Regions from separate parts of the Homo sapiens genome. Here regions 1, 2, 3 and 4 are each linked to region 5. The links are contacts of gene promoters, found by promoter capture Hi-C in human tissues and cell types (Jung and others, 2019). All regions are on one chromosome and are shown on one strand. Each heading gives the region's core, a stretch centred on a gene start or on the middle of the fragment in contact. The rest is flanking DNA. Distances are from core to core; before and after follow the strand shown.

The links. Contacts are between HindIII fragments. The study calls those that stand out against the background at their distance.
Region 1: a contact is called between a fragment that was not itself captured here and the fragment with the promoter of CIB3 in region 5, in 2 of the 25 tissues and cell types used here (stomach and thymus).
Region 2: a fragment that was not itself captured here is called in contact with the fragment with the promoter of CIB3 in region 5 in 2 of the 25 tissues and cell types used here (dorsolateral prefrontal cortex and spleen).
Region 3: the fragment with the promoter of OR10H1 here is called in contact with the fragment with the promoter of CIB3 in region 5 in 1 of the 25 tissues and cell types used here (stomach).
Region 4: the fragment with the promoter of CYP4F12 here is called in contact with the fragment with the promoter of CIB3 in region 5 in 2 of the 25 tissues and cell types used here (small bowel and spleen).

The regions. Positions count from the first base shown.
Region 1 is chr19:15,852,655-15,856,211 of GRCh38, forward strand. It overlaps the pseudogene CLEC4OP. Among named protein-coding and RNA genes, the nearest start is that of UCA1, 25 kb to the left of the region's middle. The HindIII fragment of the contact is 7,299 bases long and covers 1-3,557 here.
Region 2 is chr19:15,831,614-15,834,877 of GRCh38, forward strand. All of the region lies in intron 2 of LOC124900418 (collagen alpha-1(I) chain-like), which reads left to right. It overlaps UCA1 (urothelial cancer associated 1), which reads left to right. Exons shown (of 3, transcript NR_015379.3): 3 at 2,889-3,264. Among named protein-coding and RNA genes, the nearest start is that of UCA1, 4.3 kb to the left of the region's middle. The HindIII fragment of the contact is 5,632 bases long and covers 1-3,264 here.
Region 3 is chr19:15,813,859-15,817,341 of GRCh38, forward strand. OR10H1 (olfactory receptor family 10 subfamily H member 1) reads right to left here and starts at 1,806. Exons shown (of 4, transcript NM_013940.4): 1 at 1,697-1,806. The HindIII fragment of the contact is 22,557 bases long and covers 1-3,483 here.
Region 4 is chr19:15,671,328-15,674,518 of GRCh38, forward strand. CYP4F12 (cytochrome P450 family 4 subfamily F member 12) reads left to right here and starts at 1,760. Exons shown (of 13, transcript NM_023944.4): 1 at 1,760-1,808; 2 at 2,202-2,400. The coding sequence starts at 2,203. The HindIII fragment of the contact is 17,744 bases long and covers 1-3,191 here.
Region 5 is chr19:16,171,938-16,175,039 of GRCh38, forward strand. It overlaps CIB3 (calcium and integrin binding family member 3), which reads right to left and starts at 1,588. Exons shown (of 6, transcript NM_054113.4): 1 at 1,488-1,588; 2 at 1,225-1,259. The coding sequence starts at 1,538. The HindIII fragment of the contact is 31,728 bases long and covers 1-3,102 here.

The DNA.
Region 1 (3,557 bases), core at 794-3,293, 320 kb before region 5:
TGAGCTGCCGTTTCCTGTTTCACAAAATAGAAATTCATTCTGAGGATATGATGACCAGTGCACATAAGGTATACGGAAGGTGCTCAGATTGCAGATCAATCTGCCAATGAGACAACTTCTGCCCTAAGCTTGGCCCCATGCAGAGCAGCTTGCCAGTCAGGGAAGGTGATGCAGGAGGTAGGAAATGTCGCAGAAAAAGGCATACAGTGTGAGGATGCAAGACAATGCCAAGAGGTATAGTGAATTAAAGTGTCCTCTCCAAAAATATATGCCATGTCCAACCCCCTAACACCTGTGCATGTGACTTTACTTGGAAAGGGGGTCTTTACAGCTGTAATTAAATGAAAGCTCTCAAGATGAGATCATCCTGGGTTTGTCAGGTGGGCCCTAAATCCAATGTTGAGTGTCCTTATAACAGACAGAAAAAAGGAGACACAGAGGTGAGGAGAAGGCCGTGAGAAGACAGAGGCAGACAGTGGAGTGATGCCGCCGCAAGCCAAGGAATGCCTGGAGCCACCAGAAGCTGGAAAACACAGGGAAAGATTCTTCCTCAGACCCTTTGGAAGGGGCATGGCCCTACCGACATTTTGACTGGAAACCTCTGGCCTCCAGAACGGTGAAAGAACACATTTCTGTTGTTTTAAGCCACCCAGTTTGCAGTACTTTGCTATGGCAGCCATGGGAAAGTCATACAGTTGGCAAATGCTACATTGTTTCACTCCTTCTGAGTAGGCTTAGTGCTCATTAGCACATTCAGGGCTCTGAAAAGTCCTGCAACAAAGAAAGCAGTTTGACAACAGGTGCTGGCAAGGTTGCAGAGAAACGGGAATGCTTTTACGCTGTTGGTGGGAATGTAAATTAATTCAACCATTGTGGAATTCCTCAAAGATCTAGAACCAGAAATATCATTTGACCCAGCAATCCCATTACTGGGTATATGCCCAGAGGAGTATAAATCATTCTGTTACAAGGATACATGCACGCCTGTGTTCATTGAAGCACTATTTAAGACATGGAATTAACCCAAATGACCATCCATGATAGACTGGATAAAGAAAATGTGGTACGTATACACCATGGAACACTATGCAATCGTAAAAAGGAACGAGATCGTGTCCTTTACAGGGATATAGATGGAGCTGGAAGCCATTATTTTCAGTGAACTAATGCAGGAACAGAAAACCAAACACAGCGTGTTCTCACTTATAAGTGGGAGCCAAACAATGAGAACACATGGACACAGGGAGGGGAACAACACACAGTGAGGCCTGTCAGGAGGTGGGGTTGGGGGAGGGAGAGCATTAGGAAAAATAGCTAATGCATGCTGGGTTTAATATCTAGGTGATGAGTTGATAGGTGCAGCAAACAATCATCGCACACATTTACCTATGTAACCAACCTGCATATCCTGCACGTGTACCCCAGAAATTAAAATTCAAATAAAATTTAAAAAAGATTATGACTCTCTCTGAAGGCTCAGATGATTGTTAGCACTTTTTATCAATAAAGTATATTTAAATTTAAAAAAAAAGAGTTTGACATTGAACCCATAATTTCTCAAGCACCAAACTGGGAACACTCTTGTCAAGTAACAAAATAACTATAACTAGGATAATAGAAAAGATGTCGGCTGTGCGCGGTGGCTCACGCCTGTAATCCCAGCACTTTGGGAGGCCGAGGCCGGCGAATCCCCTGAGGTCAGGAGTTTGAGACCAGCCTGGCCAACATGATGAAACCCCGTCTCTACTAAAAATACAAAAAATTAGCTGGGTGTGGTGGCAGGTGCCTGTAATGCCAGCTACTCAGAAAGCTGAGGCAGGAGAATCGCTTGAACCCAGGAGGCAGAGGTGGCAGCGAGCCAAGATCGCACCACTGCACTCCAGCCTGGGCAACAAGAGTGAAACTCCATCTTAAAAAAAACAAAAAACAGAAAGGATATCAGGCAGTTTGGGAGCTACTACGGGTACTTCATTGTGAATGAATGAAAGAGAAACACCTACAGTGGTCATAACTTACTGCCTGAAAGCCATGCCTGCCTCTTAGGGGAGACTATCTTTGGTGTCAAAGGAGATACTCACATGTAGGTGGGGGCTGAGCCATCCATCCACCTGTGGGCACTTCCTTGGCCATCTTTGAAGAGGCCTATCCAGGATGTCGCCTGGTTAGTTGATGTCAGGAAGTCCTGGAAGGAAGAAGTTACATTTGGGAGGTGGAATTCCTTGGAAGCTGAAAGGATGGAGGCAGGGGTGTACAGAGGGCGAGAGGAGTAAGTTGCAGAGATCACAGTTAGATGGGCAGGCAGACAGAGGCAGGCAGGGAATTCACTGCCCTTGAATCTTGACTTTGAATCTCAGATCTACTATGTATTAGGTTGGTGCAAAAGTTATCGTGGTTTTACCACTATAGAAAACAGTGTGGAGATTCCTTAAAGAACTGAAAATAGGGCCGGACACGGTGGCTCACGCCTGTAATCCCAGCACTTTGAGAAGCCAAGGCGGGTGGATCACCGGAGGTCAGGAGTTCGAGACCAGCCTGACCAACATGGAGAAATCCCGTCTCTACTAAAAATACAAAATTAGCTGGGCATGGTGGCACATGCCTGTAATCTCAGCTACTCGGGAGGCTGCAGCAGGAGAATTGCTTGAAGCTGGGAGGCGAAGGTTGCGGTGAGCCGAGATCACACCATTGTACTCCAGCCCGGGCACCAAGAGCAAAACTCTGTCTCAAAAAGAAAAGAAAAGAAAAAAAAGAACTAAAAATAGAACTACCATCTGATCTACCAATCCCACTACTGGGTATCTACCCAGAGGAATAGAAGTCATTATACGAAAAAGATATTTGCACAAGCACTTTTATAGCAGCACAACTCACTATTGCAAAAATATGGAACCAGCCCAAACGCCCATCAATCAATGAGTGGATAAAGAAACTGTGAGATAGATATATACTGTGAGATATATATATACTGTGAGATATATATATACACATATATACACACATATATAATATATACACATATGTATACTGTGAGATATATATACACATACACATATGTGTGTATGTGTACATATATACATGTGTGTATATATACATATATACATATATAATATGTGTGTATATATATACACATATATACACGTGTGTATATATACACATATACATATATACACGTGTGTATATATACACATACATACATATGTATATATGTGTATATGTATGTATATATGCACACACAGTGGAATGCTACTCAGCCATAAAAAGGAATGTATTAATGGCATTTGCAGCAACCTGGATGGAATTGGAGACCATTATTCTAAGTGAAGTAACTCAGGAATGGAAAACCAAACATCGTATGTTCTCTCATAAGTGGGAGCTAAGCTATGAGGATGCAAAGACATAATAATGACACAATGGACTTTGGGAACTTGGGGGTAAAGGGTGGGAAGGGGTGAGGGATAAAATTAGGTTCAGTGTATACTGCTCAGGTGATGGGTGCACAAAATCTCACAAATCACCACTAAATAACCTACTCATGTAACCAAGTACCACCTGACCTC
Region 2 (3,264 bases), core at 717-3,216, 340 kb before region 5:
GGGCTACAGCCACACCCCATTGCTGTCCTTTTCCCCAATTCAAGGCCTCTTTCGCATCCTCCCCTTGTATCTCCCCACCTTAATCCTCAAGTATAGGATACTTCTACTCTTTCTTTGGCAACTGACCATGCACTCCTTACCATTCCATTAAAACCTAATCACCCTTACCCTGCTCAATACCAGTATCCCAGCCCGCAGCAGGCTTTAAAGGGAACTGAAGCCTGTTATCACTTGCCTGTTACAACGTGGCCTTTTGAAGCCTACAAATTCTCCTTACAACTCCCCTATCCTACCCATCCAGAAACCGGACAAGTCCTAGAGGCTAGTTCAAGACCTTCACCTCATAAATCAGATTGTCCTTCCCATCCATCCTGTTGTGCCAAACCCTATACTCTCCTCTCCTCGACACCCCCTTCCACAACTCATTATTCTGTTATCCACCTCAAAGATGCCTTCTTTACCATCCCCTTGCATCCCTCCTCCCAACCTCTTTTCACCTTTACTTGGACTGACCCTGACACCCACCAGTCCCAGCAATTCACCTGGATTGTCCGACCCCAAAGTTTCAGGGACAGCCCACACTACTTTGGTCAGGCCCTCTCTCATGACTTTCTTTCTGCCCATCTGCCTCCCACCTTATTCAATATGTTGAAGACCTTCTTCTTTGCAGCCCTTCTTACCAATCTTCCCAGCAGGACACTATCCTATCCTACTTCTTCAATATCTCTACTCAAAGGGGTACTGAGTATCCCCCTCTAAAGCTCATATTTCCTCCCCTAGTGTTACATATCTCGACATAGTCCTCCATCAACATACACGCACTCTTCCTGCAGACTGTGTTCAGTTAATCTCCCAGACCCTATTCCCCACCACCAAACAACAACTCCTTTCCTTCTTAGGCGTTGTTGGATACTTCCGACTCTGGGTACCAAGGTTTTGCCATTCTAACCAAACTGCTTTACAAACTCACTAAAGGTAATTTAGCTGATCCCATAGACCATAAGTCCTTTCCCCATGCTTCCTTTCATTCTCTCAAAAAGGCCCTAGAAACAGCTCCCACACTAGCACTCCCTGACTTGTCCCAACCTTTTTCCTTACACACAGCTGAAACACAAGGCTGTGCTGCTGGAGTTCTCACACAGGAGCCAGGCCCACGACCTATAGCCTTTCTATCCAAACAACTTGACCTCACAATTCTAGGCTGGCCCTCATGTCTACATGTGGTGGCAGCTGCCGCTTTAACACTTCCAGAGTCTCTCAAAATCACAGGCTATGCTCCACTTACCCTCTACAGTTCTCACAACCTTCAAGCATTAATATCCTCCTCACACCTTTCACACTTGCTGTCTGCCCCTCGACATCTCCAGCTCTATTCACTCTTTATTGAAACCCCAACAATAACTACTGCCCATGGGCCCGATTTCAACCCAGCTTCTCACTTAGCACCCAACACAAGTCCTGGCCAACATGATTGTATCTCCCTAATACACATAGCATCTTCCCCCTTTCCTCATATTTCTATTTTTCCAATCCCAAATCCAGACCACACTTGGTTTATTCATGGCAGTTCCTCTAAACCCAGTCAAATCTCGCCAGCTAAAGCTGGTTATGCTGTCGTGTCCCATACCTCTATTATTGAGGCTGCTGCACTTCCTCCCTCCACTACTTCCCAACAAGCCAAACTGATTGCTTTAACTTGTGCACTCTCTGTCGCCAAAGGAATGCACATTAAAATTTATATTGACTCCTAATATGCTTTCCACATCCTCCACAACCATGCTACCCTTTGGACTGAAAGAGGTTTTCTCACCACACAAGGCTCTTCCATTATCAATACCTCTCTAATAAAGGCCCTCCTTAATGCTGCTCTCTTGCTGGCCAAAGCTGGGTTCATTCATTGTAAAGGACACCAGAAACCAACTGATCTTATTGCTAAAGGAAATGCCTACGCCAACAGGACAGCAAAAGAAACAGCAAATGCCTCCACGCCTGCAAATATTCTAGCCCTCACCCCAAAAGGCTAGTACTTTTCTTTCTTCTCTATCACCCCCACCTACTCCTCTTCTAAAAAACCTGCTCTACCAGTCTTTTCCAACTCAGGGCAAGTGGTTCTTAGATCATGGAAAATTCGTTCTTCCTGCCTCACAAGCCCAGTCTACTCTCTCTTCCCTTCATGACCATTTCCATATAGGATATAAGCCTCTGGCTGGCCTCCTACAGCCCCTCATTTCCATCCCATCATGGAAATCCATCCTTAAAACCATCACCTCTCAATGCTCTGTCTGCCATGCCACCAACCCCCGAGGTCTTCTCAGGCCTCCTCCTTTTCCTACGCATCAGGCTCATGGATTTCCTCCGACACAAGATTGGCAAATTGACTTTATTCATATGCCGCGTGTCTGTAAATTTAAATATCTCCTGGTTTGGGCCAATACCTTCACCGGATGGGTCGAGGCCTTTCCCACTAGCTCTGAAAGGCTACTACAGTCATTTCTTCCCTTCTGACAGATATAATCCCCCAATTTGGCCTCCCTACTTCCACAGTTTCTCAGGCTCTTGGTATTCAGTGGAAACTTCATACCCCCTACCGTCCTCAATCTTCAGGAAAGGTAGAACGGATGAATGGTCTTTTAAAAACACACCTCACCAAGCTCAGCCTCCAACTTAAAAAGGACTGGACAGTACTTTTACCACTTGCCCTCCTCAGAATTAGGGCCTGTCCTTGAGAAGCCACAGGGTACAACCCATTTCAATTTTATATGGATGCACCTTCTTACTCAGCCACAATCTTGTTCCAGACACCAGCCCCCTGGGCAACTATCTTCCAGTCCTCTAGCAGGCTAGACAGGAAATTTGCCAAGCTGCTAATCTTCTCTTGCCTACTCCAGATTCCCAGCCATATGAAGACACCCTAGCTGGACGATCAGTCCTTGTCAAAAGTCTGACCCCTCAAACTCTACAGCCTCAATGGACCAGACCCTACCCGGTCATTTATAGCACACCAACTGCCGTCCATCTGCAGGACCCTCTCCATTGGGTTCACCATTCCAGAATAAAGCCATGCCCATCAGACAGCCAGCTTGATCTCTCCTCTTCCTCCTGGAAGCCACAAGATTAGGCCGAGAGCCGATCAGACAAACAACCTACAACCCTTAAGCTCCTGGCAGCGCCCAGCCAAGGCCATGCTTCCTTGCAACACTCCTTCCAAATGGCCATCCCAGCATGCTTCCAAGCAGGCTTCATCCGTTCCTCTGGACCCTCATC
Region 3 (3,483 bases), core at 556-3,055, 360 kb before region 5:
CAGAGAGAGGAAAGAGAGGTAGGGAGAAAGAGAGGACAGAGGGGAAAGAGAAGAAAAAGGTGAGAAGAAAGAGAGAGAGCAAGCAAGCCCACTGTCTAGCACTGACAGGAACACCCGGTGGGGCCAGTTCTCCACTCAGAGACTCTAGGGCTAAGCGTGGCTGTGGACAAGTCCTGCCACAGACATCCCTAGAGCAGGGTTTCCTGCCTTCAGCATTAGGGACGCTAGGGGCGAATCATTCTCTCTCAGAGGGGTGTCCTGTGCACTGCAGGAGACTGAGCAGCATTCTTGGTCTCCACCCACCAGATAGATACCAGCAGCACTCCCCAGTCACGACAATCAGAAATGTCCTTATACGTTGTCACGTGTCTCCTGGGTGACAGCATCACTCCATGGGCCAGGCCTGTCTTGTCTCTGAGACCCCATCTGGCCTTAACTCTCACCCATCCTGGCTCTCTCTTCTTAGTGAAGCTGTCTGGCCTCCCCTCTCTTCCACTTAAGCCACCACTTCCCTCTCTTTTCTCTCCATCTTCTCATCCCCAGCTCCTAACCATTCCCTCACCACCTGCTCCCATTGACGCCTCCCTTGTGTGTGTGTGTGTGTGTGTGTGTGTGTGTGTGTGAGAGAGAGAGAGAGAGAGAGAGAGAGAGAGAGAGAGAGAGAGAGAGAGAGAGACAGGGTATCCCTCTGTCACCCAGGCTGGAGTGCAGAGGCACAATCACAGCTCACTGCAGCCTTAACTTCCTGGGCTCAAGCAATCCTCCCACCTCAATCTCTGGAGTAGCTACAGGTGCCTGCCATTCCTGGCCAATTTTTGTATTTTTTTGTACAGACAGGGTCTCACTATGCTGCCCAGGCTGGCCTCAAACTCTTGGACTCAAGTGATCCTCCCACCTTGGCCTCCCAAAGTGCTGGGATTGCAGGCATGAGCCACTGCACCCGGCCCACCCTGATTCTTTACACCCTGGGGTGGTGGCTGGAGCTTCTGAACCCTGAATCCTCTTTCTCTCTTTTCTCCGCCTCTTCCCAATCCTTTTTCCGTAGACTTCTTGCCTGGACAGACCGAGAAGAGAGGTTAAAATCAAACCATCACCTTGGGTCACATTGAGCATTGGCTGTCTTCTCTCTGCACCTGTTACCTCCCCCATCCAAGGGACCTACCTCATGAGGCAGCAGGAGCTCTAAAGAAGGCAAGTCCTGGCTGGGCACGATGGCTCATGCCTGTAATCCCAGTACTTTGGGAAGCCGAGGCGGGTGGATCACGAGATCAGGAGTTCAAGACCAGCCTGTCCAGCATGGTGAAACCCCTGTCTCTACTAAAAATACAAAAAATTAGCCAGGCATGGTGGCACGCACCTGTAGTCCCAGCTACTCAGGAGGCTGAGGGAGAAGAATCGCTTGAACCTGGCAGGCGGAGGTTGCAGTGAGCCGAGATTGCGCCACTGCACTCCAGCCTGGGCTACAGAGCGAGATTCCGTCTCAAAAAAAAAAAAAAAAAAATAGAAGAAGGTAAGTCCTGCTAAGCAAACAGCACACTGACTAAGACGTGGTGAGTGGCCTCTGCCTGTCACCCACTGCCCTGTAGACTCACATTGCTAAAGGAGTAATATAAACAGGTGGTTTCTTGGAGTCCCTGGCAGGTGCTGGTTCCCCAGGTCTCTCCTGGTCAGGTGGCTGAGAGGGGAGGTGACTCACCTGGGACTCCAGGCATCTGCTTCTGCTTCATCCCAGTAGGAGGCTCTAGTTTGGAGTTTCTCCACAGGTGGGAGCTGACCAGGTGTGGGCTGCACCAAGCAGCCACACCAGCTGAGCCGGGGGCTTGACTGAGCCCAAATGCGATTATTTATCCCTCCCTGACTCCCTGCCCACCGGCTTCCCTCGCTGTGGTCCTACTGTCTCTGTCTCCGCTACAGGGATGCTGGGACCCCAGGGACCCTGCCAGAGAGGAGGCAACCTCAGGGAATCTGTATCCTCACTTTCCCATTCCCCCCGCCTGCCAGGGGTGAGTCAATTCCCTGAGCTTGTCAAGAGCTTGAGCAGAGTCTAGTGCTCTACAGATTTGGGGTTTGGGCCCATGACTGTTGAAATTGACAGGAGGGCAGCCCTGCCATTGCCCCCAGGGACTGCAGAGGCTGCCTTGATATGCCCCGTCACCTTCATTCTTCTCCAACTGGGTCATTTGCCCAACTAAATGTCCTTTAAAATAATTTTTTAAAACCAACACACACACACGTATTTGTTTTTATTTTTATTTTTTGAGACAGGGTCTAGCTCTGTTGCCCAGGCTGGAGTGCAGTGGTGTGATTATGGCTCACTGCAGCCTCAACCTCCCAGGCTCAAATGATTCTCCTGCCTCAGCCTCCTGAGCAGCTGGGAGTAAAGGTGCTTGCCACCACACCTGGGCTAAGTTTTAATTTTTCTGTAGAGATGGGGTCTCGCTTTGTTGCCCAGGCTGGTCTTGAGCTCCTTGGCTCAAGGGATCCTCCCACCTTGACCTCTCAAAGTGCTGGGATTACAGCTGTGAGCCACCATGCCTGGCCTGTTTCTTCTTATTATGTAATTGAAATGCTACATACAAAGCAGCAAACCATGCAATGGCCAGCCAGGCAATCGTGACGGTGAATTTAATGGGTATCCCTTCAGATCTTCATGAGCATGTAGGATGTGAAAACAATGCAAACCCATAAAATCAGAGTTCTGTTGTGCATTATTGTTGCTTTCGCTTCGTTCTGCTTTTGAGGTGAAATTCACATAAAATAATCAACCACTTTAAAGTATACAATTCCCTGGGATTGAATGCATTCACAATGTTGTGTGGCCGCCGCCTCTGTCTAGTTCCAAAATGTTTTCATCACCTAATACCCATTAGCAGCCACTCCCCTACCCCACCCAGTCCTTCAAAACCACCAATTTGTTTTCTGGCTCTGGCTCTATGGACTTACCTATTCTAGACATTTCATATAAATGGGACTATATACTACTATATATAACGATGCATTATGATTGCCCCTGTGAGTAGCCACGGCACTCCAGCCATTTTGTCAACACAAAAATGTCGACATTGCCAAGACTGAGAAACTTTGGTCTGCATAAACTCACACAGAGTTCACTCTAAGACGCTGAGTGAAAAACCAAGTTACGGAAAGATATCTACGGGAGAATCAGATCTGCATTTTAAAAACACACAAAATGGTTTGACAGTTTATCAAAAAGTTAACATAGAAATTATCAAAGGACTCAGCAATTTCACTCCTAGGTATACACCCAAAAGAATGGAAAAGGATTCAAACAAATCCTTGGACATCAAATGTGCATAGCAGCACTGTTCACAGTAGCCAAACGGTATTTTTTAATTTTTCTGTAGAGAGTAGGATTTCACTTTGTTTCTCAGGCTGCTCTTGGAACTCCTGGGCTTAAGCGATTCTCCTGCCTTGACCTCCCAAAGTGCTTGGATTGCAGGTGTGAGCCACTGGACATGGCCT
Region 4 (3,191 bases), core at 510-3,009, 500 kb before region 5:
TATATAGAGCACCTGGCACATAGTAGGTGCACCTTATGTAGAGCACCTGGCACACAGTAGGTGTACTTTATGTGGCGTACCTAGCACATAGTAGGTACACTTTATGCGGCATACCTGGCACACAGTAGGTGCTCTTTATGTAGCATATCTGGCACACAATAAGGCACACTTTATATAGTGTACCTGGCACACAGTATGTGTGCTTTATGTCAAGTATGTTGCACCGAGTAGTTTTACTTTATGTAGGGGACCTAACACACGGGAGAAGCATTTTATGTGGAACATCTGGCACACAGTAGGTGTGCTTTATTTAGAGCACCTGGCACACAGCAAGCATGGTTTATATAAAGGGCCAGGGACTCAAGATACAGGATTTGTGAAGGGCTCCCAGCATACAGTAGACAGTATTTATGTGGAGCTCCTGGCACACAGTAGGTGCACTATATGTAGAATAGCCAGCACACAGTAGACAAGATTTATGTAGATTACTTGATGCAGAGTAGGTGCGCTTTCTGTGGGTCACCAGGTACGTAGTACACATGCTCAATGTGGAGCACCTGACACACAGTAGGTATGCTTTATATACAGCACATGGCACAGAGTAGGCACGCTTTATATGAAGTACTCTGCATAAAGTAAGCTTACATTATGTACAGCATGCTGCACACAGTAGGTGAGCTTTATGTGGCATACCTGGCACATAGTAGACAGAATTTATGTACAGTATCTGATACACAGTAAGTGCACTTTATATAGTGAAACTGGCACACAGTAGGTGCACACAGTAGTGCTTTCCGTACAGTCTTTCGCATGGAGTAGAGACAGGCACACAGCAGCTCAAGTGCTAGTTGTCATCCCCTTCCCTTCAGTCCCTCTTTTTGGAGCTCCCTTTTCTTAGGAGCCTTCCTCCGTCGCCCTCTAAGGCCTCATCTGACATCCCATTTCCCAGATGGGAAGCCTGAGCCCAGGATGGCCACACTGCCCACAGTCAGAGAAAGGACAGGGCAGAACAAGGACTCCACTCGGGATCCCCTTGCTCTGCCCTCCCCTGCCTGGACCCCGTCAGCTCAAGGCCCCTCTCAGCCTCATCCCCTGTGCCTCCGCTCTGTCCTCCTAAGCTGAGCCCAGCTTCTAGGTTTGCTCCTCCAGCTGGGCTCTTTATCCCCAGAATCTGACGAAGGTAATCCTCAGCGGGGTTGGGGCTGGATTCTTTCTTCCTGCTTCAAGCAGTCAGGCCTCAACTCAGGCCCTGGGCTGCCAGGAGGCAGGACTTGAACTCTTGCCAGGCTGTGAAGCCAGAGATGAGAGGCTTCTGTCTCTGAATCTCCTAAGTCTGCACCAAGATGTAGTGCCTGACATCCTCCCCGCCCATGTTTGGAGAGGAGCCCAGATGATCTGGGACAAGGGTTGGCCTGGCCCAGCTCAGCTGGCTGCCAACTGTCATGATAAGTATATGCTTTTATCTGAACACCCTTGTCTTGGAAGGGCAGGGTGGAGGTAAACTTGGGGTTCAGAGTCCCCTCTAACCACCCTCCAACTTCCCCTGCAAACTCCCAAGAAGGTACTGAGACCTGAGAATTCAGTGCTCGTGCTGGGGCACCCTGAGCTGCACCCAGTGGGCCCAACCCCAGGTTTTGGCTGGCTGCCCAGGCACGGAAGACACACCCAGGCTGTGGGGATTGGCTGCCTCAGCCCAGCCCAGCCCAGCCCCGCCTCCTACGGCCTTCCCTAGATCAGGGGCCAGGGCCAAAGACCTCCCAGCAGAAGAGGAGAAGAGGTTGTGTGGGACAAGCTGCTCCCGACAGAAGGTACCAGGCTGGGGGTGGCAGGGCTGGAAGGTCCTGGCCTGGGATGAAGAGGGGACTGCCTAAGGCTGGGGTGGCTCCAAGATGCTGGCATGGGAAACTGGGGGTTTCCTGGTAACTGGACTCCTAGCAAACTCCCAAGGATTCAGGTGGGGCCCTTCTGGACTCTAATCGGCCCATCTCTTTCCCTTTCTGTGTGGTTACCAGGTTACTGGAGGCCACTTAGTTGTTGGTTTTGGTTGGGACTTTCTGGACTTCAGATCTCAGCCCTCGTTTACTCACCCCTGAGCCCTCCCTGCCCTGCCCCCAGCAGTTCCTGACTTCGCCCCTATACACTGTCCCCGGAGCTCTTCCCTGGGCCTCAGGTCCTCACCCTGCATCCCCTCTGCCCTGCAGGATGTCGCTGCTGAGCCTGCCCTGGCTGGGCCTCAGACCGGTGGCAACGTCCCCATGGCTACTCCTGCTGCTGGTTGTGGGCTCCTGGCTACTCGCCCGCATCCTGGCTTGGACCTATGCCTTCTATAACAACTGCCGCCGGCTCCAGTGTTTCCCACAGCCCCCAAAACGGAACTGGTTTTGGGGTCACCTGGGCCTGGTGAGTGTGACAGCAAAATGTGTCTGGGGTCTCAGGGTGGATGGACTTCCAGAGGAGCAGGAATGGGGCTCAGTGAGCTAGGTATTGATGGTGGCTGGGGTCTGCGACCCCAGAGAAGCAAGAGAGATGGCTCACTCATTCCTCTGCTAACTCACTCATTCCTCTACCCACTCACTCCTCTACCCACTCACTCACTCCTCTACCCACTCACTCACTCCTCTACCCACTCACTCATTCCTCTACCCACTCACTCATTCCTCTACCCACTCACTCCTCTACCCACTCACTCACTCCTCTACCCACTCACTCACTCCTCTCCTCACTCACTCATTCCTCTCCTCACTCACTCATTCCTCTACCCACTCACTCACTCCTTTCCTCACTCACTCACTCCTCTCCTCACTCACTCATTCCTCTCCTCACTCACTCATTCCTCTCCTCACTCACTCATTCCTCTACCCACTCACTCACTCCTCTACCCACTCACTCAATCCTCTACCCACTCACTCACTCCTCTACCCACTCACACATTGCCCTCCTCACTCACTCATTCCTCTCCTCACTCACTCATTCCCCTCCTCACTCATTCCTCTCCTCACTCACTCATTCCTCTACCCACTCACTCATTCCTCTCCTCACTCACTCATTCCTCTACCCACTCACTCATTCCTCTCCTCACTCACTCATTCCTCTCCTCACTCGCGCATTCCTCTCATTCGCGCATTCCTCTCATTCACTCATTCCTCTCCTCACTCACTCATTCCTCTCCTCACTCTTATTCGTCTGCTCAC
Region 5 (3,102 bases), core at 338-2,837:
TCATGGGTCGGGGCCCCTGGGCAATGGCCCCACAGGCCGAGTGATGATGTGGGATACTCATCTGTGCCCATCGTGCTGGGTCACGCCAGGGACCTGCAGCAGCCTTGGGCCACCTCCTCACACCCTCATCTTAATGCCAAGCCCACAACCCAGACTGGGCTCTGGACTTTGCACCTGGGCTCCCAGCCTCAAGTCCCAGTCTCAGGAGAATCTTTATCTTTCATTTTGTTTTTCTGAGGCAGAGTCTAGCTCTGTCACCCAGGCTGGAGCACAGTGGCGTGATCTCGGCTCACTGCAACCTCCACCTCCCAGGTTCAAGCAATTCTCCTGCCTCAGCCTCTTGAGTAGCTGGGATTACAGGCACCCACCACCTCGCCCAGCTGATTTTTGTATTATTAGCAGAGATGGGGTTTCACCATGTTGGCCAGGCTGATCTTAAACTCCTGACCTCAGGTGATCCACCCACCTTGTCCTCCCAAAGTGCTGGGATTACAGGCATGAGCCACCGCGCCCAGCCTCAGGAGAATCTTTCTAACGTGCTGATGGTCTCTCCCCTGCTCATGCATGCTCCATAGCTCCCTGCCACCCTTGGGAGAAAGCCCAAGCTCATCAGCCTAGAGACTGGGACAGTATGACAAGATGTGACTTGTCAGCTTCTCCATCTCTGCCTCTGTCCACTGACCACACCTGCCCCCCTTCCCCATTTGAGTCCCAACAAATTGGAAATACCAGTTGGGCATGGTGGCTCACACCTGTAATCCCAGCACTTTGGGAGGCTGAGGCAGGGGGATCGCTTGAGCCCAAGGGTTTAAGACCAGCCTGGGCAACATAGTGAGAGCCCCATCTCTATAAAAAAATACAAAAATGAGGTACATGTGGTGGCTCGCACCAGTGGTCCTAGCTACTCGAGAGGCTGAGGTGGGAGGATCACCTGACCTTGGGAGATCGAGCCTGCAATGAGCCATGATTGCACCACTGCACTCCAGCCCAGGCAATAGAGACAGACCCTGTCTCAAAAAAAAAGAAAAGAAGGAAGGAAGGAAGGAAGGGAGGGAGGGAGGGAGAGAGAGAGAGAAAAGAGAAAGAAAGAAAGAAAGACTACTTACACACACACACACACACACACACACACACACACACACACACACCAAATTGCAAATATCCTCCAGCAATGAATAGAAAGTTGTTTTTCCAGATCTTCTCTCCCTTCCTCCCTGGACTGACCTCATGATCTCCTTCCTTGTGAAAAATGTGCAGTCCTGTGGAGAGAGGTGTTGTCTTAACCCGAACCCTGCCTCTGGGGCCTCCTCCCACGGCCTCCTCCCTCCACCCCACACTCACACAGATGGCCTGATGCTGCCACACACAGAGCAGAACCAGGAACCCAGGCGGACGGTACACCCAGATGAAGGCATTCTGTTCCCATTTCCCAGACCACGGAACCAAAGTTGTCAAACCCACTGAGGACCCATCCTGCCCCCCTCTACCTGATACGCTTCCAGCTGCTCGTGTGTGAAGACTGTCTGCTTGTTGCCCATGGTGTGAACCACAGCCCAGACTTGGGGATGCACCCCAAAGGCTCCCAGCTTCCTCGGGGCCACACGGGTTGCCAGGCTGTTGTGTACCAGTGTCTGGGCAAATCTCCCTGCCCTGGCTGTCACCCACCCACCTACGCCATCACCCCCTGCTTGATGAGACTCAAATTACAGCCAGGCTCTCTGGACAACAGCCTGAATGTGTCCATGGGTAAGGATAAGGGCTGTGGGATGTCACAGAGAAGACCTCAGTGGGGAGGCCACATCTGCCACCACAAGGTGAGGCTGGGGTTATGGGGCACACTCAAGAGACAGGCAGGGTATACAGAAGGGCTATGGGCACACTGCAGCTCAAATCCCAGCTCTCTGCCCACTAGCTGTGTGGCCCTGGGCAAGTCACCTGACTTCTCTGAACCTCATTCATGAGATGAAAATTACATTATACCTACCTCATAGGGTCATTCTCAGGATCTGAGATTTAAAAAAAAAAAAAAAAGGTTTTGACTGGGCAAGGTGGCTCACACCTGTAATCCCAGCACTTTGGGAGGGCCAGGCAGGCGGATCACCTGAGGTCAGGAGTTCAAGACCAGCCTGGCCAACACGGCAAAACCCCATCTCTACTAAAAATACAAAAATTAGCTTGGCATTGTGACACATGCCTGTAATCCCAGCTACTCCAGAGACTGAGGCAGGAGAATTGCTTGAACCCAGGAGGTGGAGGTTGCAGTGAGCCGAGATCCCGCCATTGCACTCCAGACTGGGTGACAGAGTAAGACTCCATCTCCAAAAAAAAAAAAAAGGTTTTGGCTGGGCGAGGTGGCTCATACCTGTAATCCCAGCACTTTAGGAGGACAAAGCATGAGATTCACTTGAGGCCAGGAGTTCAAGATCAGCTTGGGCAGCATGGCAAGGCCCTATCTCTACTAAAAATACAAAAATTAGCTGGATGTGGTGGTGCATGCCTGTGGTCCCAGCTACTCAGGAGGCTGAGGTGGGAGGATTGCTTGAGCCCAGGAGTTTGAGGCTGCAGTGAGCCATGATTGCATCACTGCATTGGGAACATAATGGTGAACAAGCTAGATGAAGTTCTGGGGTGTGCATTGACATTATTATTTTATTACATTTTATTTTTTTGAGACAGTCTCACTCTGTTGCCCAGGCTGGAGTGCAGTGGTGTGATCTCGGTTCACTGCAATCTCTGCCTCCCAGGTTCAAGTGATTCTCCTGCCTCAGCATCCCAGGTAGCTGGGACCACAGGTGTCCACCATGCCAAGCTAATTTTTTTTGTATTTTTTTTTTTTGAGACGGAGTCTCGCTCTGTCACCCAGTCTAGGGTGCAGTGGCGTGATCTCGGCTCACTGCAAGCTCCACCTCCCGAGTTCAGGCCATTCTCCTGCCTCAGCCTCCCGAGTAGCTGGGATTATTACAGGCGCCCACCACCACGCCTGGCTAAGTTTTGTATTTTTAGTAGAGACAGAGTTTCACTATGTTGGCCAGGCTGGTCTCGAACTCCTGACCTCAGGTGATCCACCCGCCTCGGCCTCCCAAAGTGCTGGAATTACATGTG